Linked DNA regions of Homo sapiens: all the other regions are linked to region 2. The links are contacts of gene promoters, found by promoter capture Hi-C in blood cells and fetal thymus (Javierre and others, 2016). All regions are on one chromosome and are shown on one strand. The core of a region is centred on a gene start or on the middle of the fragment in contact, and the rest is flanking DNA. Distances in the headings are between cores, read along the strand shown.

The links. Contacts are between HindIII fragments. The CHiCAGO score rates a contact against its expected background, and 5 or more counts as called.
Region 1: a contact is called between the fragment with the promoter of PRDX1 here and the fragment with the promoter of PTCH2 in region 2, in 1 of 17 cell types (naive CD4 T cells). The highest score is 6.0, in naive CD4 T cells.
Region 3: a contact is called between the fragment with the promoter of NASP here and the fragment with the promoter of PTCH2 in region 2, in 2 of 17 cell types (neutrophils and total B cells). The highest score is 7.0, in neutrophils.

What each region holds. Positions count from the first base shown.
Region 1 is chr1:45,519,489-45,523,347 of GRCh38, reverse strand. It overlaps PRDX1 (peroxiredoxin 1), which reads left to right and starts at 1,464. Exons shown (of 6, transcript NM_181697.3): 1 at 1,464-1,519. RefSeq lists an enhancer at 986-1,065 and a silencer at 2,108-2,270. The HindIII fragment of the contact is 8,348 bases long and covers 1-1,863 here.
Region 2 is chr1:44,841,744-44,845,831 of GRCh38, reverse strand. PTCH2 (patched 2) reads left to right here and starts at 2,579. Exons shown (of 22, transcript NM_003738.5): 1 at 2,579-2,971; 2 at 3,793-3,985. The coding sequence starts at 2,900. RefSeq lists a silencer at 2,364-2,633. The HindIII fragment of the contact is 9,661 bases long and covers 513-4,088 here.
Region 3 is chr1:45,581,483-45,585,916 of GRCh38, reverse strand. It overlaps NASP (nuclear autoantigenic sperm protein), which reads right to left and starts at 1,876. Exons shown (of 15, transcript NM_002482.4): 1 at 1,712-1,876. The coding sequence starts at 1,770. RefSeq lists silencers at 1,181-1,480, 2,391-2,450 and enhancers at 1,981-2,290, 2,741-2,800, 3,211-3,260. The HindIII fragment of the contact is 9,802 bases long and covers 1,694-4,434 here.

The DNA of each region.
Region 1 (3,859 bases), core at 215-2,714, 680 kb before region 2:
GCTAGGACTACAGGCGCGCCACCACACTCGGCTAAGTTTTTGTATTTTAGCAGAGACAGGGTTTCACCATGTTGGCCAGGATGGTCTCGATCTCCTGACCTTATGATCCGCCCTCCTAGGTGGCCTAAATCTACATTTTTACATAAGATAAGGTGAATGTTTGAAGAAAAAGGGAATGGAGGAAGAAAACAATTATGTGGTGGACTCAGGGTAATCTAGTAGTAAGGTACTACTAGAAAGGTAGAAAGTAGTCTAGTAGAAAGGTAATCTAGTAGTGAACATTTATGGAATTTGTGGAATAGAGGCCAGGTGCGGTGGCTCGCGCTTACATTCCTAGCACTTTGGGAGGCCAAGGCGGGCGGATCACCTGAGGTCAGGCGTTGGAGACCAGCCTAGCCAACATGATGAAACCTCGTCTCTACTAAAAATACAAAAAATTAGCTGGGCGTGGTGGTGCGTGCTTGTAGTCCCAGACACTCCGGAGGTGAGGCGGGAGAATCGCTTGAGCCCGGGAGGTGGAGGTTGCAGTAAGCCAACACCGTGCCACTGCACTACAGCCTGGGCGACAGGGTGAGTGAGACTCCGTCTCAAAAAAATGTGGAATAGAACAAACTTTAGTTTTAGGAACTAGACTTTATATTGTAGATCTAGTTGCAATTGACACGTCCTTGTTTTATGGGAGGCTACATACTTTAAAGGTTTCCAGGGGAGCAAATAATTAATTATGATTTTGTGTATGTGTGTTTGTGGGGGGTAGTCATCAGGAAATGTCTGAGGCCTTTTGCCTTACCGTGTGGGTCTGGCTAATGTGTAATGTTTTGACTCAAGATTGTAAAGTCAAATTATTCATCCGGGGAGAGGATGGTCGTGTAACTGAATCAGCCTCCCAAGATGAACTTTCCCTCTGGCGTAAGTTTAGGAGTCCTGATATTTTATTTTCCTTTACAACAGAAAGCAGCAACCCTGTAATTAAAGAGAACAATGAAGGAAGCTATCTAAGCCATGAGGGTTACTGAGGATCTGCGCTGGGGTTAAGGCTGCGAACTTAAGAAATATTTGGATAGACAGTTCTCATGGCTTGGTGTGGTTAGACGTGGTCCTCCGTGGGCAGCAGCTAAGACGCTTACTCCAGTTTGGGCATTGAGGGCACAGTGCGTAGTGGTCCTGGAAGTAAAGAGAATCCTGGTTTTCCGCAGAGATCTAGGATTAACCTAAGCGTTCGGGTTCGGGAGCGGCCACAAGGGCGCCTCACTCCAACCTCAGCCATCCGCAACAGGGTGGGGTATTAGTATTTTTCCGCACCCGCCCCAACGAGGGAAAGCGCCGAGTCATTCCGGCGGGGCGCGCCGGGCGGGGCTCGGGCCACATCCCCCTCCTCTCTCTCCTCCTCCGGCACCCCCGTCCGTTCCGACTCTCGCGAGATCCCTACTGGCTATAAAGGCAGCGCCCCGGAGAGCTCTTGCGCGTCTTGTTCTTGCCTGGTGTCGGTGGTTAGTTTCTGCGACTTGTGTTGGGACTGGTGAGTGTGGGCAGTGCGGCCCCTGCGGAGTGAGGCGCGGCGCGCCCTTCTTGCCTGTTGCCTCTTCCTCCTCCTGTCCGGGGCCCGCCCGCGCTCGGGTGGGGGTGCTGTGATGCGTGAGGCAGCCGGGGGAGGCCCGGAGTCCGAGACTGCTTGAGCGCTGCGCACACCCCTCTCGTGGGCCCCCCACGTAGGTGCGGGAACCTGGTTGAACCCCAAGGCAAGCGTGGACTCGAGTCGAGTCTTCCCCCGGCAACTCGAGCACGTGGCGCGGCGTCTGGGCGGGCTGGTGGTGGGGGTCTCCGAGACTAGCCTCCTGCCGGACGGGGTGGGTTCGGGAAGCTTCTGGAATGGACCTGTATCCAGACTCGTGGCTGTAGAAGACAGCCTCTATGTATTTGGCTGTTCCGGGTCCTGAGCCTTGACTAGCTGCGGAGCTTCGGGTACCCTTTCCCCGTCTTTATTTTCCTGTACGTGGAATGGAGTTAGCGATGAGCCCAAATGTCCCCGCTGAAGCACTCTCTCTGCTGGTGCTTTCTCCAGTGCTGGGGAGGGACAGGGGGCACCTGAAGTGGGGTTTAGGGATGTGGCCCTCTACGCTGGGCAGATCCCCTGAAGGGGCCCGGTGGCGGCCTGAATCCCAGCAGCCTTTACCCCGAATTGGTTGGGTTTTGTACTTGGGGGCCACTTGGGAAAGAAGGATTGGACGAGAAGGCCATTTGGGGGCACCAAGTTGCAGCATGCCTTAGTTTTTGGTTTTTGTTTTTTGTCGTTAAAGGTGTTAAGGACTTTTTAAAAAACAGTTAAAAGTTTGCTAAGATCCATGCTTACAAAATTTCTTTTGCTTGTGGTATTGTGAACTAAGAACTTTGGGACTTGGAAAAGCTTTCAGACCGCGGCTTAGTGGGTTAAATCTCTGTTTTTTGAGCTAGAGTCTCGCTCTGTCGGCCAGGCTGGAGTGCAGTGGCGCGGTCTCGGCTTACTGCAACCCCTGTCTCCCGAATTCAAGCAATTCTTCTGCCTCAGCCTTAGGAGTAGCTGGGATTACAGGCTTGTGCCACCAAGCCCCGGCTAATTTTTGTATTTTTTTTTTTTTTTTTTTTTTGAGACGGAGTCTCGCTCTGTCGCCCAGGCTGGAGTGCAGTGGCTGGATCTCGGCTCACTGCAGCCTCCGCCTCCCGGGTTCACGCCATTCTCCTGCCTCAGCCTCCCGAGTAGCTGGGACTGCAGGCGCGTGCCACCACCCCCGGCTAATTTTTTGTATTTTTGTTAGAGACGGGGTTTCACTATGATGGCCAGGCTGGTCTCGAACTTCTGACCTCAGGTGATCTGCCTGCCTCGGCCTCCCAAAGTGCTGGGATTACAGGCTTGAGCCACAGCGCTTGGCCAAGATCTCAATACTAATCTTGGTGTTGATCTGGGTGAATCCAGTGCAACCTTCCTTTTCAGCAGTAAATTGATTCTTATACTTGTTTTCGCCCTGGGATATTAGCCCCAAAGTCAGGAACCCACCTTCACAAATGGTGAAGGGAATTCTAGGGCTTACACAATACCTAAAGATTTGAAATTAAGCAGATGCCAATCAATATCTTGGTCTTGCCTCTTTTTTTTTTTTTTTTTTTTGGAGACAGAGTCTCACTCTGTTGCCCAGGCTGGAGTGCAGTGGCGCGATCTCAGCTTACTGCAACCTCTGCCTCCCGGGTTCAAGTGATTCTCCTGCTTCAGCCTCCTGAGTAGTTGCGATTACAGGCATGCACCACCACGCCCGACTAATTTTTGTGTTTCTAGTAGAGACGGGGTTTCACCATGTTGGCCAGACTGGTCTCGAACTCCTGACCCGGTGATCCGCCCGCCTGAGCCTCTCAAAGTGCTGGGATTACAGGTGTGAGACACTGCGCCCAGTGGTCTTGCCTCTTAAAAGTTGGACTGACTGGAAGGGCGCGGTGGCTCACGCCTGTAATCCCAGCATTTTGGGAGACTGAGTTGGGCAATCATCTGAGGTGAGGAGTTTGAGACTAGCCTGACCAACATGGAGAAATCCCGTCTCTAATAGAAGTACAAAAAAATTAGCCGGGTGTGGTGGCCTGCGCCTGTAATCCCAGCTACTATGGAGGCTGAGGCAGGAGAATCCCTTGAACCTGAGAGGTGGAGGTTGCAGTGAGCCGAGATAATGCCATTGCATTCCAGCCTGGGCCCCAAGAGCGAAACTCCGTCAAAAAAACAAAACAAAACAAAAACAAATAAAACAAGTTGAATTAGTTATAGGTTGTGTGCTGTCTTGGACAAAGCTACCTGGAGAAAAGTCAAATATGCTTCTGATGTTATGAAGGCAGGTGGAGG
Region 2 (4,088 bases), core at 1,330-3,829:
TATTGTTTTTTGAGGCAGGGTCTCACTTTGTCGCCCAGGCTGGAGTGCAATGGCACAATCACAGCTCGCTGCAGCCTCTATCAACTCTCCTGCCTCAGCCTCCCAAGTAGCTGGGACTACAGGTGTGCGCCACCACACCCAGCTAATTTTTTATTTTTTGTAGAGATGGGGTCTCACTATGTTGCCAGGGCTTGAACTCCTGGCCTCAAGCAATCCTCCCGCCTCAGCTTCCCAAAGGGCTGGGATTACAAGCATGAGCTACCATGCCACTTTATGCTCAGCAGGACACACTCTATAACAGGGAGAAGAAAGTGCTATTCAGGTAGGCTGCTTTTCATGTGCAGTTACTGTTTGGCCAACAGCATCATACATATATTAGTTCCTCCATAGGCATTTTTCTGGGTGAATGGACAAATGGAAATGGCAAACCTGTTAGGTGTTCACCCCTTCAACCTAAATGTTCCTCTTCCCCAGGACTGAGGCTCTAGAGATGATGTTAATTTGCACAAGCTTTCAAAAAATCAGTTGAGCAGTGTGTATCAAGAGCCATAAAAATGTTCATACTCTTTGACCCAAACAACCCACTTCTGGGAATCTGTCCTAAGGATATTCTCCAAATGATTGATTACAAAAACTACATAGTAACATGAAATATTTATGATGGAATGATTTTTTTTAAGTCTGGAAGAACTGACCAAGAAATTTGCCAGAGATAATAGTAGTTGTGTTAGAAAAATTAGCTTATTGTAGATTCATTTTCTCTTTCTCAAACTTTACATATTGGAATATTGATTTTACCCTACTCTGCCACTTGAGGTTTATCAATCAGGAACCCAATAGAAACAGCACACTCAGATAGGATAGTTGAAAGTTTAATAGAGGGACTATTGCCTCTATTCTTCCCAATTTCCAATCCTTTACACCCTGAATTCTGCAACTCTTAGTGACTCACTCAACAATTATTAAGCACCTATTTATTGTCTGGTGAAGAAGGCAGACTTTCAAGTACATAAGTTTTTGTGTCATAAATGCAATTATACATATATAAATTGAGTTGTTATGCAGAGCACAAAGAAGCAATTATCTGCCAGGAGAGAGACATGAATCAAGGAAGGTTTCAAAGAGGGGGTAGGCTGGGTACAGTGGCTCACGCCTATAATTCCAGCACTTTGGAAGGCCCAGGTGGGCAGATGACCTGAGCCCAGGAGTTTGAGACCAACCTGGGCAACATGGCAAAACCCTGTCTATACAAAATTACAAAAATTAGCTAGGTGTGGTGGTGCACACCTGTAGTCCCAGCCATTTGGGAGGTCGAGGTGGGAGGATCCCTTGAGACTGGGAGCTCAAGGCTGCAGTGTGCTGTGAAGGCACCACTGCACTCCAACCTGGGCAACAGAGGGAGATCCTGCCTCAAAAAAAAAAAAAAAAAGGTGGGTTTTGGGGGTGATTCAAGTTCAGTTTTTGAAGATTATCTGCCAAGACAAAAGGACCAAAACATGTACAAAGGCAGGAACGAGGGAACACTGATGTGAGGGAACTATGGGAGAGAAGGCTTTAGCTAGATCACACAGGGCCCTGTGCTCCAAGTGGGCCTTGTGCTTTGGAGCTATCAGATTTGCATGTTAGAGAAATGACTCTGGTCTCAGTGGAGAGAGTGGACTGAAGAGGGCAAGAATGGAAGCCGGGAAGAGTGAACAGAAGAAATCTTGGGCTTTGATTGGGTCGGAAAGAAAGTGTGGCCCTACCCACTTTGATGCCATCTCTAAGACCTACTGCTACCTGACCCCCGACCTCTGGAAGGAGACTGTATTCACCAAGTCTCCCTATCAGGAATTCACTGACCACCTCGTCAAGACCCACACCAGAGTCTCCGCGCAGAGGATCCAGGCTCCAGCTGTGGCTACAACATAGGGTTTTTATACAAGAAAAATAAAGTGAATTAAGCCTGAAAAAAAAAAAAAAGAAAAGAAAAAGAAATTGTGGCCCTAGGCCGGGCGCGGTGGCTCACGCTTGTCATCCCAACACTTTGGGAGGCTGAGGCGGGCGGATATCCTGAGCTCGGGAGTCTGAGACCAACCGGGGCAACATGGCGAAACCCGTTCTCTACCAAAAATACAAAAAGCCGGGCGTGGTGGTGCATGCCTGTGATCCCAGCTACTCGGGAGGCTGAGGTGGGAGGATGGCTTGAGCCTGGAAGGCGGAGCCTGCAAGCCGAGATGGAGCCACTGCACTCCAGCCTGGGTGACAGAGTGAGACCCCGTCTTAAAAAAAAAAAAAAAAGTGTATCCCTAACAGAGCCCGCAAAGGCCCTTTCTCAGCGTAAGCCTCTGGACTTACACTTGGCCGGCGCTGCGCCTCTCCGGGATCCCCCTCCCTCCTCCTCCCTGGGGCCCCGCGGGCGGGAGGGAGGCGCGGGGTGGCCCAGCCTGGGTGGTCTCCCGCCCCGCCCCCTGCGGCGCCGTTACCTAGCAGCGGGCCGGGCCGCGCGGCTAGGGTAATTTGCGGGCCCCTCAGCCAATGGGAGGGCGTCGCCCCGGCCAGCTCCCTTTTCTGGAGCTCCAGCCGCCTCCCGGGGACTGCAGTTGCCACCTCGAGCCCTGCTGTGCGTCTCGGGCCAGCAATTCCGCCTGCGCGCGGGACCCATTCCTCCTCCAGCCGCCGCGGCCCACGGCCCACGGAGCGGGTGAATCCCGGCGCCGCGCCCCGGACCCGCAGCTCCCTGCACTCCTCCCTCCCAGCCGCTTTAACACCCACACCCCACAGTCTCTCCCACGCCCGCGCCTTGGCGGCCCCACTGAATCCCTACGCGGGGCCCAGCGGTACCGGGAGACCGGGCTAGCCTATGGGAGCGCCCAGATAACGCGGGTTGGGGGCGCCCGCGCCCCCCATCCCCGCCAGCATGACTCGATCGCCGCCCCTCAGAGAGCTGCCCCCGAGTTACACACCCCCAGCTCGAACCGCAGCACCCCAGGTGAGTAGAGGGGGAGCTGGAAGAAGGAAGAGAGCGGAGCCAGGTCTGTCACTCGGGCCTCTGCAAGGTTTGTGATGTCTTGAAGTGCCGAGTGTCATTAGATGTCTGAAGGCAAGTGAGAGCCAGCACCGCAAGCAAGTTGTGCGTGTGTGTCGGTGTGTCTGTGCCGGTGTCTCCTCATCGTCTGGCCAGTGAGAATGAATGTCTGTGGGTTCACCTCTGTGTCCACCCGACGACAGGTGTGTGTACATATGTATCCTGCTCTCAGAAAATGGGCCTATGCCGGCCGGGCGCGGTGACTCACGCCTGTAATCCCAACACTGGGAGGCTGAGGCAGGCAGATTACCTGAGGTCAGGAGTTCGAGACCAGCCAGGCCAACATGGGGAAACTCTGTCTCTACTAAAAATAAAAAATTAGCAGGGCGTGGTGGCGGGCGCCTGTAGTCCCAACTACTCGGGAGGCTGAGGCAGGAGAATCTCTTGAACCTGGGAGGCGGAGGTTGCAGTCAGCCGAGATCACACCACTGCACTCCAGCCAGGGCAACAGAGCGAGACTGCGTCTCAAAAAAAAAAAAAAAAAAAAAAAGGAGAGAAAACAAAAAGAAAAGAAAGGAAAATAGGCCTATGCCTTCCTCAGGTGTGTGCTGGGGATGGTGGGTGTTACATCTTCCAAGTCTGGGCCTGTGTCTGTGTTGGTGCTCCCTGTCCCACATCCAGAAATCAAGAAGCGAGGGCTGGGCAGCAGATATACAGGGTGAGAAGGGAAGGATTTCATGCATTGTTGCAGTGATGCCTGGCTGACCCTTCTCTTTCCATCCCAGATCCTAGCTGGGAGCCTGAAGGCTCCACTCTGGCTTCGTGCTTACTTCCAGGGCCTGCTCTTCTCTCTGGGATGCGGGATCCAGAGACATTGTGGCAAAGTGCTCTTTCTGGGACTGTTGGCCTTTGGGGCCCTGGCATTAGGTCTCCGCATGGCCATTATTGAGACAAACTTGGAACAGCTCTGGGTAGAAGGTAAGTTGTGGACACTGGCCATAGCTGCTCAGGTATGGTGAGCCCAAGACAAGAACGGGGTGAGGAGCTGGCTACTGAGCTCTAGCAGGCCTGGCCCTGGGGC
Region 3 (4,434 bases), core at 627-3,126, 740 kb before region 2:
CTGTAACCTCAACACTTTGGGAGGCCAAGGCGGGAGGACTGCTTGAGTCCAAGAGTCTGAGACCAACCTGGGCAACATTAAGACCTTGTATCTACAAAAAATTGGCCAGGTGTAGTGGCACACCTGTAGTCCCAAGCTACTAGGGAAGATCAGTTGTGCCCAGGAGTTCGAGGTTGCAGTGAGCTATGATCACAACACTACACTCCAGTCTGGATGTGAGATCCAGACCCTGTCTGCAAAAACAAAACAAAAACACACAGCTGTCAGTGAAATACTGACTGCTAGAGCTGTCTAGGAAACATTATAAAAAGCAGCTCTTTTTATAATAGCTATAGCACGACTCCCAAGCCCAATCTATACTGCTTATATCGAATCAATGGGGAAAGAGGCAGGTAATGGGAGTTTGAAATTAAAATTGTATTTCCCATGAGTTCCCAAATGATTCTCAGGGTGACTTGAGAACCACTGCTCTACAAGAACGCAGAGAGAAAAGGTGGTAAGCAGAGATATACGTAAATCTCTAACTATAAACAAACAAAGACATAATCATGACAGAGTGTAAGCCTATAGAATATCAATTTAAAAAACTTCACAGCAACCATTCCTTTTACAGGGAAGGCAACTAACCTCTAAAGCGCACAAGATTAGAAAAAAAAATAGAACCAGATGCCTAAAAAAATATGGCAAGATTGGGAAATCAGACCTACTGTATGGGAAACAGCACTTGTTTCCTTGAACTCGTGTAGTGTTTCCCTCCACTGTTCAAAAAACAGATTACGCCTGAGTGGCACTGTGCCGCTTTCAAAACAATCCTATCTTGTTTCCCTCCAGTCCTTCTCCACTTCGTGCATACTACTGCCGATTCACCTAGCAACCAAACAGTGCTGGTGAGAGCTCCAGACAGCGCTTCCTGAAGACGCTTTACGTCCGGTAATGTTCCCCCCAAACAGACACCACCTCCAAAGTCTAAAGAACGACAATCCTCCCCACCACAGGCAGGGGCTCACGGAGTCGCGGGGAGCGATAACTATCTCCCAGCACAAGACGTGAGCGAGGTGTCGGGGGGAACTAGCCTCGCCGGCCCCACGGAGATAGTCCAAAGCTCCTGCTGGAGCCGCAGCGGCCCCAAACAATGGAGTTTTCCCGCCTCCTCAAGGCCCCGCCCCCTGCCCCAGGGCCGGCGAGGGAAGCGAACGCACGCGCGCAAAACCCCGCCCTCAGCAAGGCCCCGCCCACCCCGACCCCTCAGGTCCAGCCTCCTTCCTCGTGCAAGGTTTTTTTTCCCTTTTGGCGCCAAATCTTCGTTGGTTATATTCCCGGGTTATCCAGGGGTTCTACCAGAGGCACACGCTGGGGACAGAAGGGGCGTGAAGGCCAACCCGCGCGCCAGGGCCCCGCCTCCCGGCCAACCGCCCCGGGCTGGGGGAGGAAGGAGAGGGGCAGGCGAAGGATACAGCCGCCGCTGCCCCCGGCAAGATGGCGGCCGCGAAAAGCGGGGCAGGGGGCGCCAGCCGACCGCCGTTACCGCTGCTGCGCGAGGCTCTCAGCAAAAGAAGGACTGCTCCAGTGACCAGGCCTTCCCGAACAGCGACAGCTGCTCTTGGGAAGGCAAGTACTCCCGCCCACCGGTCTGCCCCTTCTCCGGAGCCCCCGTCCATTAGCCCTCCCCGCGGACTGGCCAGTGCCTTAAGCTTTCCACAGTCCCGCTTACTTGTCGGCAGAAACCAGCTCCGCGGCGACGGCGGCAGTGGCTGTGGACTCCATGGCCATCGTTCCCCTGAGGTGGCGAACCAGCGAACGGAATAGAGCCTGCGAGAAAAACAGGCAATTTGGGACGCCAGAGACTCACTCAGGGACAGAAAATGGCAGATTAGAGACCCCGCGCGGCCGGGGCCCTTTTATATACGAGGACCCTTCGCCCCGCCCATCCACTTCCGGATCCTCCCCCTCGGGTTTAAAGGGCCAGGACTCACCACCCATACCCTCCGTCCCCCGCCGGCCTACCACTATCTAGACACCTCCTGCCCTCTCCATATGGCTCCGCGGGATTGTTTCCCTCCCTAGCCCGACTTCTCCAATAAACAGCAACTTCCTGCTTCTCCAGCAAGTCGCATAAGAAGAACTGGAATCTTGACACTACAACTCCTGACAGGACGCCCCTGCGGCATCCAGAGACAGGGAAGCCAGTGCTGCTCTGCATGTTCAGGGCGAGTAGCTGAGAGTCTCCTTCCGGCCTGGATACTGAGGAAGGTGACTTAGACTTTCTCTCCGTCCTCTGAGTCGTAACGGACGGACACGCAAGGGCCGAGGACGGGTACAAGCAGCAGCGACTAGAACTGATCTGGGTGAGATCTAGGCCTCAGCAACAACTGACGCAAAAAGATTTTGTTCTAGGATTGGCTACAGCTGAAACTACCGCGCTTGATTCAAAGCTCGGGGCTTGCAGCGGGAGGCAGCTGGCTCCTCCCTCTGAACCCGCCCCCTTTGGCTGGCCCAATCCGCTGATCCCATCCTCTTAGGCCCTGCCCAGACTCCAAATCTACCAGAATTAATGCTCCCAGCGCTGTTTGTCCACTCCTGCCTATGATTTGCTGTGTGACTACTACTCGTGGGGGTACCGTGATTAGACGCTTTAAAGCTATTAGCTATCTTGTTTAATATTAACAATGCTACTAGTGAGATCAGTGTTAGTCTGTTTCTTAGAAAAATAAACCAAGGGGCCGGACGCGGTGGCTCACGCCTGTAATCCCAGCACTTTGGGAGGCCTAGGCTGGTGGATCACGAGGTCAGGAGTTCAAGACCAGCCTGGCCAAGATGGTGAGACCCCCCCGTCTCTACTAAAAAATACAAAAATTAGCCGGGCGTGGTGGCGGGCGCCTGTAATCCCAGCTACTCGGGAGGCTGAGGTAGGAGAATACTAGAACCCGGAAGGCAGAGGTTGCAGTGAGCCGAGAGCTCGCCACTGCACTCCAGCCTGGGCAACAGAGCGAAACTCCGTCTCAAAAATAAATAAATAAATAGGCCAAGGTTCCAACCTGGCCAACATGGTGAAACCCCGTCTCTACTAAAAATACGAAAATTAGCCAGGTGTGGTGGCAGGCTCCTGTAATCCCAGCTACTCGGGAGGCTAAGGCAGGAGAATCACTTGAACCCGGGAGGCAAAGGTTGCAGTGAGCCGAGATCTCGCCACTGCACTGCAGCCTGGGCAACAGAGCGAGACTCCGTCTCAAAAAAAAAAAAAAGGGGAAGCTGTGACTTGTTCAGAAAGTTGCAAGACAAATCAGTTATGGAAAGCAGTGTGCCTCATTTCCTGCAAATGGCTGAGTGAAAAATAACTGGCAGGCTAAAAAGCTGCAATTCCTCACACCTGGAGTATCATCCATTCCTTTTCACCATGGCCCAGTCTACGCTGATCGGAGTAGGGGTTTTTATTTCCCTTTAGGTTCCAGCATATTGGGAAAGATTCCTGGAGAGGATTCTTATTCCAATCTGTCAAGGCTCGAAGAGGTTGAAATCTTTGGGGCTAGAGAGCTGGACGTGAAAATGCCAATTCCTATGGCAAACATACATGGGCTCTTCCATTATTAGCTAGGTGACGTGAGCCAGGTCACGTAACCCGGATTGTAATCGAGTAGCTGGGATTAAGGTTAAGTGTAAAATGAAGACATATTAGTAGCCACCGCTTAAGGACATTGTGAGAATTACAGGTAATTAGCACTGTGTAGAATTCACGCTAAGCACTCATTGAATGGCTACCACAGTCTGATGATGTGGTAAATGGAGGGTGTTGGGAGGGGAGATCTCTCCAAAGTCCTTGCAGCCAGGGCTAGGGCCTGAGAAAACCTCTGCAATTACTGGTGTGACCGATTCATCCATTAAATTAATATTCACTGAGCAACTTTGAGGTACAAGACTTTGTACTAGGTTCTGGGGACAAAAGACATGGACTCTACCTTGAGGAACTCAGAGAAATATATTTTAAAATATATTTTAGGCTGGGCGTGGTAGCAGGTGCCTGTTATCCCAGCACTTTGGGAGGCTGAGGCAGGCGGATCACTTGAAGTCAGGAGTTCGAGACCAGCTTAGCGAACATAGTGAAACACCATCTCTACTAAAAATACAAAAATTAGCCGGGAGTGGTGGCAGGCTCCTGTAATCCCAGCTACTTGGGAGGCTGAGGCAAGAGACCCACTTGAACCCAGGAGTTGGAGGTTGCAGTGAGCTGAGATTGCACTACTACACTCCAGCCTGGGCGATGGTGAGTCTCCATCTCAAAAAAAAATAAATAGCTGGATGCAGGCCGGGCGCGGTGGCTCACTCCTGTAATCCCAGCACTTTGGGAGGCCGAGGCGGGCAGATCACCTGAGGTCAGGAGTTTGAGACCAGCCTGGATCCCCTGGTGAAACCCCATCTCTACTAAAAATACAAAAATTA